Regions from separate parts of the Homo sapiens genome. Here region 1 is linked to region 2. The links are contacts of gene promoters, found by promoter capture Hi-C in human tissues and cell types (Jung and others, 2019). All regions are on one chromosome and are shown on one strand. Each heading gives the region's core, a stretch centred on a gene start or on the middle of the fragment in contact. The rest is flanking DNA. Distances are from core to core; before and after follow the strand shown. Region 1 overlaps GALNT11 (polypeptide N-acetylgalactosaminyltransferase 11). Region 2 holds the start of RHEB (Ras homolog, mTORC1 binding).

Region 1 (3,345 bases), core at 690-3,189, 520 kb before region 2:
TGGCCATAAACTGGCCCCAAAACTGGCCATAAACAAAATCTCTGCAGCACTGTGACATGCTCGTGATGGCCTTGACGCAATGCTGGAAGGTTGTCGGTTTACCGGAATGAGGGCAAGGAACACCTGACCCACCCAGAGTGGAAAACCACTTAAGGCATTCTTAAACCACAAACAATAGCATAAGCGATCTGGGCCTTAAGGACATACTTATGCTGCAGGTAAGCAGCCAGAGCCCATTCCTTTATTTCTGCCCATCCCTTTATTTCCCATAAGGAATACTTATAGTAAATCTTATGACTGGCTTGCTGTCAATAAATATGTGGGTAAATCTCTGTTCATGGCTCTCAGCTCTGAAGGCTGTGAGGCCCCTGATTTCCCATTCCACACTCTATATTTCTGTGTGTGTGTCTTTAATTCCTCTAGCGCCGCTGGGTAAGGGTCTCCATGACCCAGCTGGTCTCGGCAGTGAATGATCTCTGCAATGAAAACTATAAAATACTGATAAAAGAAATTGAAGAAGACGGGCTGGGCACAGTGGCTCAGACCTGTAATCCAAGCACTTTGGGAGGCTGAGGCAGGCAGCTCACCTGAGGTCAGGAGTTCGAGACCAGCCTGACCAACATGGAGAGACCCCCATCTCTACTAAAATTACAAAAATTAGCCGGGTGTGGTGGTGGGCAACTGTAATCCCAGCTCCTCAGGAGGCTGAGGCAGGAGAATCATGCGAACCCAGGAGGTGGAGGTTGCAGTGAGCCAAGATCACAGCAGTGCACTCCAACCTGGGTGACAAAGCAAGACTCTCTCAAAAGGAAGGAAAAAAAAAATTGAAGACATGCACGCACAAAAAGAAAGATGTTCCACATTCACCAACTGGAAGAATCAATACTGTTAAAATGTCCACACCACCCAAAGCAACCTACAGATTCGATGCAATCCCTATCAAAATACCAATGAACCAAAGACATTCTTCACAGAAATAGAAAAAAAAAATCCTAAAACTTATATGGAATAACAAAAGACCCAGAATAGCCTATGCTATCTGAGCAAAAACAACAGAACTGAAGGAATGACATTACTTGACTTCACATTATCTAACCCCAAATTACAACTTCAAATTATACTAAAGAGCTATAGTAACCAAAATAGCATGGCACCAGCATAAAAACAGACACACAGACCAATGAAACAGAATGGAGAACCCAGAAACAAATCCATACATCTACAGCGAACTCATTTTTGACAGAAGTGCCAAGAACATACATTGGGAAAAGGAGAGTCTCTTCAATAAATGGTGCTGCGAAAACTCGATATACATATGCAGAAGAATGAAACTAGATCCCTATCTCTCACTATACACAAAAATCAAATTGAAATGAATTAAAGACTTAAGACCTCAAGCTATGAAACTACTAAAAGAAAACACTGGAGAAAATCTCCAGAACATTGAACTAGGCAGAGATTTCTGGAGTAATACCCCACCACAGCATACATGGACAAATGGTATCACATCAAGTTAAAAAGCTTCTGTACAACAAAGGAACAACAAAGTGAAGAGAAACCTAGAGACCAGGAGAAAGTATTTGCAAACTATCCATCTGGCAAGGGATGAATAACCAGAATACATAAGAAACTCAAACAATGCTATAGGAAAAAAATCTAATAATCCTATTAAAAAATGAGCAAAGGTCTGAATAGACATTTCTCAAAATAAGACATACAAATAGCAAACAGGTGTATGAAAAGGTGATCAACATCACTGATCAGAGAAATGCAAAACAAAACTACAAGGAGATATCATCTCACCCCAGTTAAAATGGCTTATATCCAAAAGACAGGCAATAATGAATGATGGTGAGGATGTGGAGAAAAGGGAATCCTCATACACCATTGGTGGGAATGTAAATTAGTACAAGCACTATGGAGACCAGTTTGGAGGATCCCCAAAAACTAAAAATAGAGCTACCACGTGACTCAGCAATCCCACTCATAGTATATACCCAAAAGAAAGGAAATCAGTATACCAAAGAGGTCTGCAGTCTCATGTTTCCTGCAGCACTGTTCACAATAGCCAAGATATGGAAGCAACCTAAATGTCCATCAACAAATGAATGGATAAAGAAAACATGGTACATATACACAATGGAGTACTATTCAGCCATAAAAAAAGAATGAGATCCCATCATTTGCAACAACAGGGATAGAACTGGAGGTCATTATGTTAAGTAAAATAAGCCAGGTACACAGAATGACAAACTTTGCCTGTTGTCACTTATTTGTGGAAGCTAAAAATTAAAACAATTGAACTCACGGAGAGAGAGACTAGATAATGGTTACCAGAGGCTGAGAAGGGAGTGAGGGGAGAGACAGTTAATGTATACAAAAATATAGTTAAATAGAATGCATAAGATCTAGTATTTGATAGCACAACAGCATGACTACAGTCAACAAAACTTTATTGCACATTTTAAAGTAACTTTAAAAGAGTATCATTGGGTTGTGAAAGATTCTCCCCCAAGCCTGAAAGCTTAAGGGAATGAATACTTCCTCCCTCTTCAAGCCCAGTCCAAATGCGCAAGGACAGTTGCGCCAGCAGCATGCATCAGCAAGTTAGCAGAAGCAAGAAGAGAGCTGGGCAGAAGACACCCCCTGAAGATCAAGAGGGAGGCCAGCGGGCACTACGCAGCAGCCACATCAGACTGGGACAATTCCTGCTTATAGAGGACTGTAAAACCCCTTCCCCATCCTCACTTGGGGCTGACGCTATTGCCAAGCAGTGAGTACCATCTGACCCCTTTCACTTGCTATTCTGTCCTGTTTTCCCTTAGAATTCGGTGGCTAAATACCAGGCACCTGTCGGCCAGTTAAAAGTGACTAGCGGCCAGTTAAAACTGACTAGCACAGCCGCTGGACTAAAGACACGGGTGTCAGGCTTTCCGGGATAGGGCTCTCTAACAACCCCTGACTCTTCGGAGTTGGGAGTGTTGGTTTGCCTGGAACCAGCTTTCCGCTTTTCCTGTACTTCCGGGCTGAGCCGAGGGTCGACAGAGAGGAAAGCCATTCAGCTCCGGGGTCCTGACAACAAGTTGGTTGACCCTGTGGCCATGAGCAGAACTCTCGAAGTCATGTTGCCCAAGCGAGACTCGCCCATCTATCCTACCTATCCTGACCCTTGCCTCCTGGGTCCTAATGCTTGTCAGAAAAACTTTCTCTTGCCTCTCTTCTCTGAGGCTAGTCCCGCTTCTGGAAACCACTCCCTGTCTCTGGTGCTTTTCTAGTTTCTCCTGTAAGAATCATTTCTAGTATAAACTCCAGGACTCTGTTAACCTTCTTTAGGCACCCGGGCTC
Region 2 (2,930 bases), core at 352-2,851:
ACTACAGTAAATCCCAACATGCAATAATACATATATAGCATATCTATAAACATATATATCTACACGTGCACTTACACAAACTTACCCTTACTCATTTTTTTAACTCACCACTGTACTAATGAGGACACATACTTACCCTTACTATGCATAACGCAGTTTTCTATTCTGTTCTATTTTTTTTAAAAAAAGGTAAAACTAAACTGATTTTATAATGCAAGGAATTTAGTAGCATCTGTTCAAAAACACCGTGGTGAGGGTATCCGAATCCACAGGATAAAAACGACACATTTTACAGGAGAGTGCATTTTAAGACCTTTATTTTAAAATACTTAAAATAACTATAGCGTAAACCTCAACATTTCATGGAAACATAGAACTTCCAGACATTGATCACTTCTGGCTGGCTGCCTGGGGCTTCCATCTGTAGATCCCCGAGGACAAGAATGCACACCCCAGCCCCTCATCGGAGTGCTTCCGTGGGAAAGCTGGAGGGAGTCGCTCTTGGGTTGGGTGTTCCAAGTCGACTCCAGTCACCTCTAAACCTTCCTACGCTGGAATACAAGGCCTGCCACTCAGCTTCCCCTGGCTTCATTCCTCCCCACCGATCACTGGCAAAGGGCGAAGGGCCATGCCCGGCCTCTGCAGGTCCCCACTGCCAAACAGCCTGGGCAGAATAGGGGCGGGTTCCCCGGCGCGGCGGAGTCTCTGCTAACTCGGCAAGTGCCAAGCCCTCCAGCAGCCACCACGCCGGGCCTGCCTGCAGGCTGGTCCCTCAACGGCACCTGCGTTCCCGGCCGGGCTTCCCTTCCCGCGCCCCTCTGCACTGCACCCCTGGGAAGGCTGTGCCCACACCACGGTCTCCGCCCGTCCACACCGCGGCCCGAGGCGTTCCTGGCACCCGGCTCGGGCCTGCCCGCCGCACCAGCCGCCCCGGTGCTGGCGGAGAACCGGCTTCCCGCCCCGGCGCTGTTCCAGGAGGTGCGCCGAGCTCCGCGCGAAGCGAAGCGGACACCAGAACTGACGAGGCTCGCCCTGTTTTTAATGAAATTCCTAACACTTTGAATTAACGCAGACTCCATGCTTCCCACAGTCCTTCGGCCGTCGGTGACGCTTAGTCACCACTACATCCTCAAACCCAGACACGAACGCTAACGCAGCTCAAGGAGAATTTTCAAAAAACCCCGAGGGAGGAGCCAGCCCACCCGCCCAGGCCACGCGCCTCGCGCCCTTCACGGGCTCAGCGGGCGCGAACCCGCCAACCGCTTAGCGTTTCGCCAATCACCGCACCTCCCACCTATTGCCCCGCCCTGCGCTCCGTTCTGGCCAATCACCAGGGAGCCACCGTTTGTCTCTCCGCCTCTCCCGCCCGCCCCTAACCGGTTGGAAGTTTGAAGCCTTCAAACCTAGCCGGCGCCCAACAGCGCGGTAGCAGCGAGGTGTATTTTTAGCTCCCGGGCGGGCAGCCCCGCCCCCCCCTCCCCGCCTCCTTGTTTCCCCCAATGGGAGATGGAGTTTCCGACACGTCATCGCGCGGCTGTGCAGGAGCTGTCCAATCGGCGCTCGGGGAGAATGGCGTAATTAAAAAGCGGCGGAAGAAGGTGGGAGGGTCATGACGCAGCGAGTTTCAGTCGTGACTTTTCTGGGGGCATCGCGGCGTCCCCTTTTTTTGCCTTTAAAGTAAAACGTCGCCCCGACGCACCCCCCGCGTATTTCGGGGGGCGGAGGCGGCGGGCCACGGCGCGAAGAGGGGCGGTGCTGACGCCGGCCGGTCACGTGGGCGTGTTGTGGGGGGGAGGGGCGCCGCCGCGCGGTCGGTTCCGGGCGGTTGGGAGCGCGCGAGCTAGCGAGCGAGAGGCAGCCGCGCCCGCCGCCGCCCCTGCTCTGTATGCCGCTCTCTCCCGGCGCGGCCGCCGCCGATCACAGCAGCAGGAGCCACCGCCGCCGCGGTTGATGTGGTTGGGCCGGGGCTGAGGAGGCCGCCAAGATGCCGCAGTCCAAGTCCCGGAAGATCGCGATCCTGGGCTACCGGTCTGTGGGTGAGTGGCCGGTGGCCGCGCGGCCTCCTCGCGCCGCCGGGGCCTCGCCTGGGAGCCGGGTCGCGGCCGGGCCTGCGAAGTTTGGAGCCGGCGCGGCCATGTGGCGGGGCGGGCGGGGGCCGCGCGTTTCGTAACCACCATTCTGAGCGGAGGTGGTGGCGGTCGGGGCGGCGTCCGCGCCGGTGGAGGAGCCGCGGTAGCTGGGCGCCCTCCGCGGGCCGGGCGGGCAGGTGGCGGCCGGGCGGAGGGCGTGGGAGGCGCGGGGCGGGGGCCGTCGGCCGCCGAGGAGTCCGGGTCTCGTCTGGGGAAGTGAGGCGGCGCCGGGGAGCCGCGCTAGAGGCTGCCGCGAGGGAGTCACACCTGCCTCCCCGCCTTCGCCGCGGGCGCGCGTGACCGGGGCTGGCGGTCTCCCCCACCCCGCCCCCGATGTAAGGAAAAGAAAGTCCGTGGGATTTTAACAAAGGAAGCAGCGCCTCGGCTTCATTCCATCTGTGGTGAAGTTTACCCTTGTAAAGAAAACTAGGGATTTAGAGGACGTTTGGGCACTGAACGCAAGTTTTCTGCATAGGAAACCTAGGCGATCCCCCAAAAGAGGTCCCTCTGGAGGCCCTCGAGATGCTGCTGGCGGCCTGGGTAGGAAGACAGAGAAAAAGGAATGTCTGATCTCTCGGTGCCCTATTTTTGTTCGGGAAGGAATAAGGTCAGGTACTTGCAACCAGGCTGTTGAAGTAATTCCAAAGTCTTTTTGTTTTCTTTTTCTTCCCCCAAAAGGTTGACATACATTTGAAACAGTTCCTAGCAGTCGCCTTATTGCTGAATAAGGTGGCTTAGGGTCGGGTTGGGGGGCGGACGGGGTGTTACAGAACGAGCGGTTTTCTGGCCTGTGTGAAACCA

What was found. Contacts are between HindIII fragments. The study calls those that stand out against the background at their distance.
Region 1: a contact is called between a fragment that was not itself captured here and the fragment with the promoter of RHEB in region 2, in 2 of the 25 tissues and cell types used here (dorsolateral prefrontal cortex and spleen).

The regions. Positions count from the first base shown.
Region 1 is chr7:152,035,248-152,038,592 of GRCh38, reverse strand. All of the region lies in intron 1 of GALNT11 (polypeptide N-acetylgalactosaminyltransferase 11), which reads right to left. Among named protein-coding and RNA genes, the nearest start is that of GALNT11, 11 kb to the right of the region's middle. RefSeq lists an enhancer at 1-131. The HindIII fragment of the contact is 4,607 bases long and covers 1-3,345 here.
Region 2 is chr7:151,518,566-151,521,495 of GRCh38, reverse strand. It overlaps RHEB (Ras homolog, mTORC1 binding), which reads left to right and starts at 1,601. Exons shown (of 8, transcript NM_005614.4): 1 at 1,601-2,036. The coding sequence starts at 1,985. RefSeq lists silencers at 1,151-1,200, 1,241-1,590, 1,761-1,920, 2,091-2,210, 1,921-2,350 and 1 more. The HindIII fragment of the contact is 18,818 bases long and covers 1-2,930 here.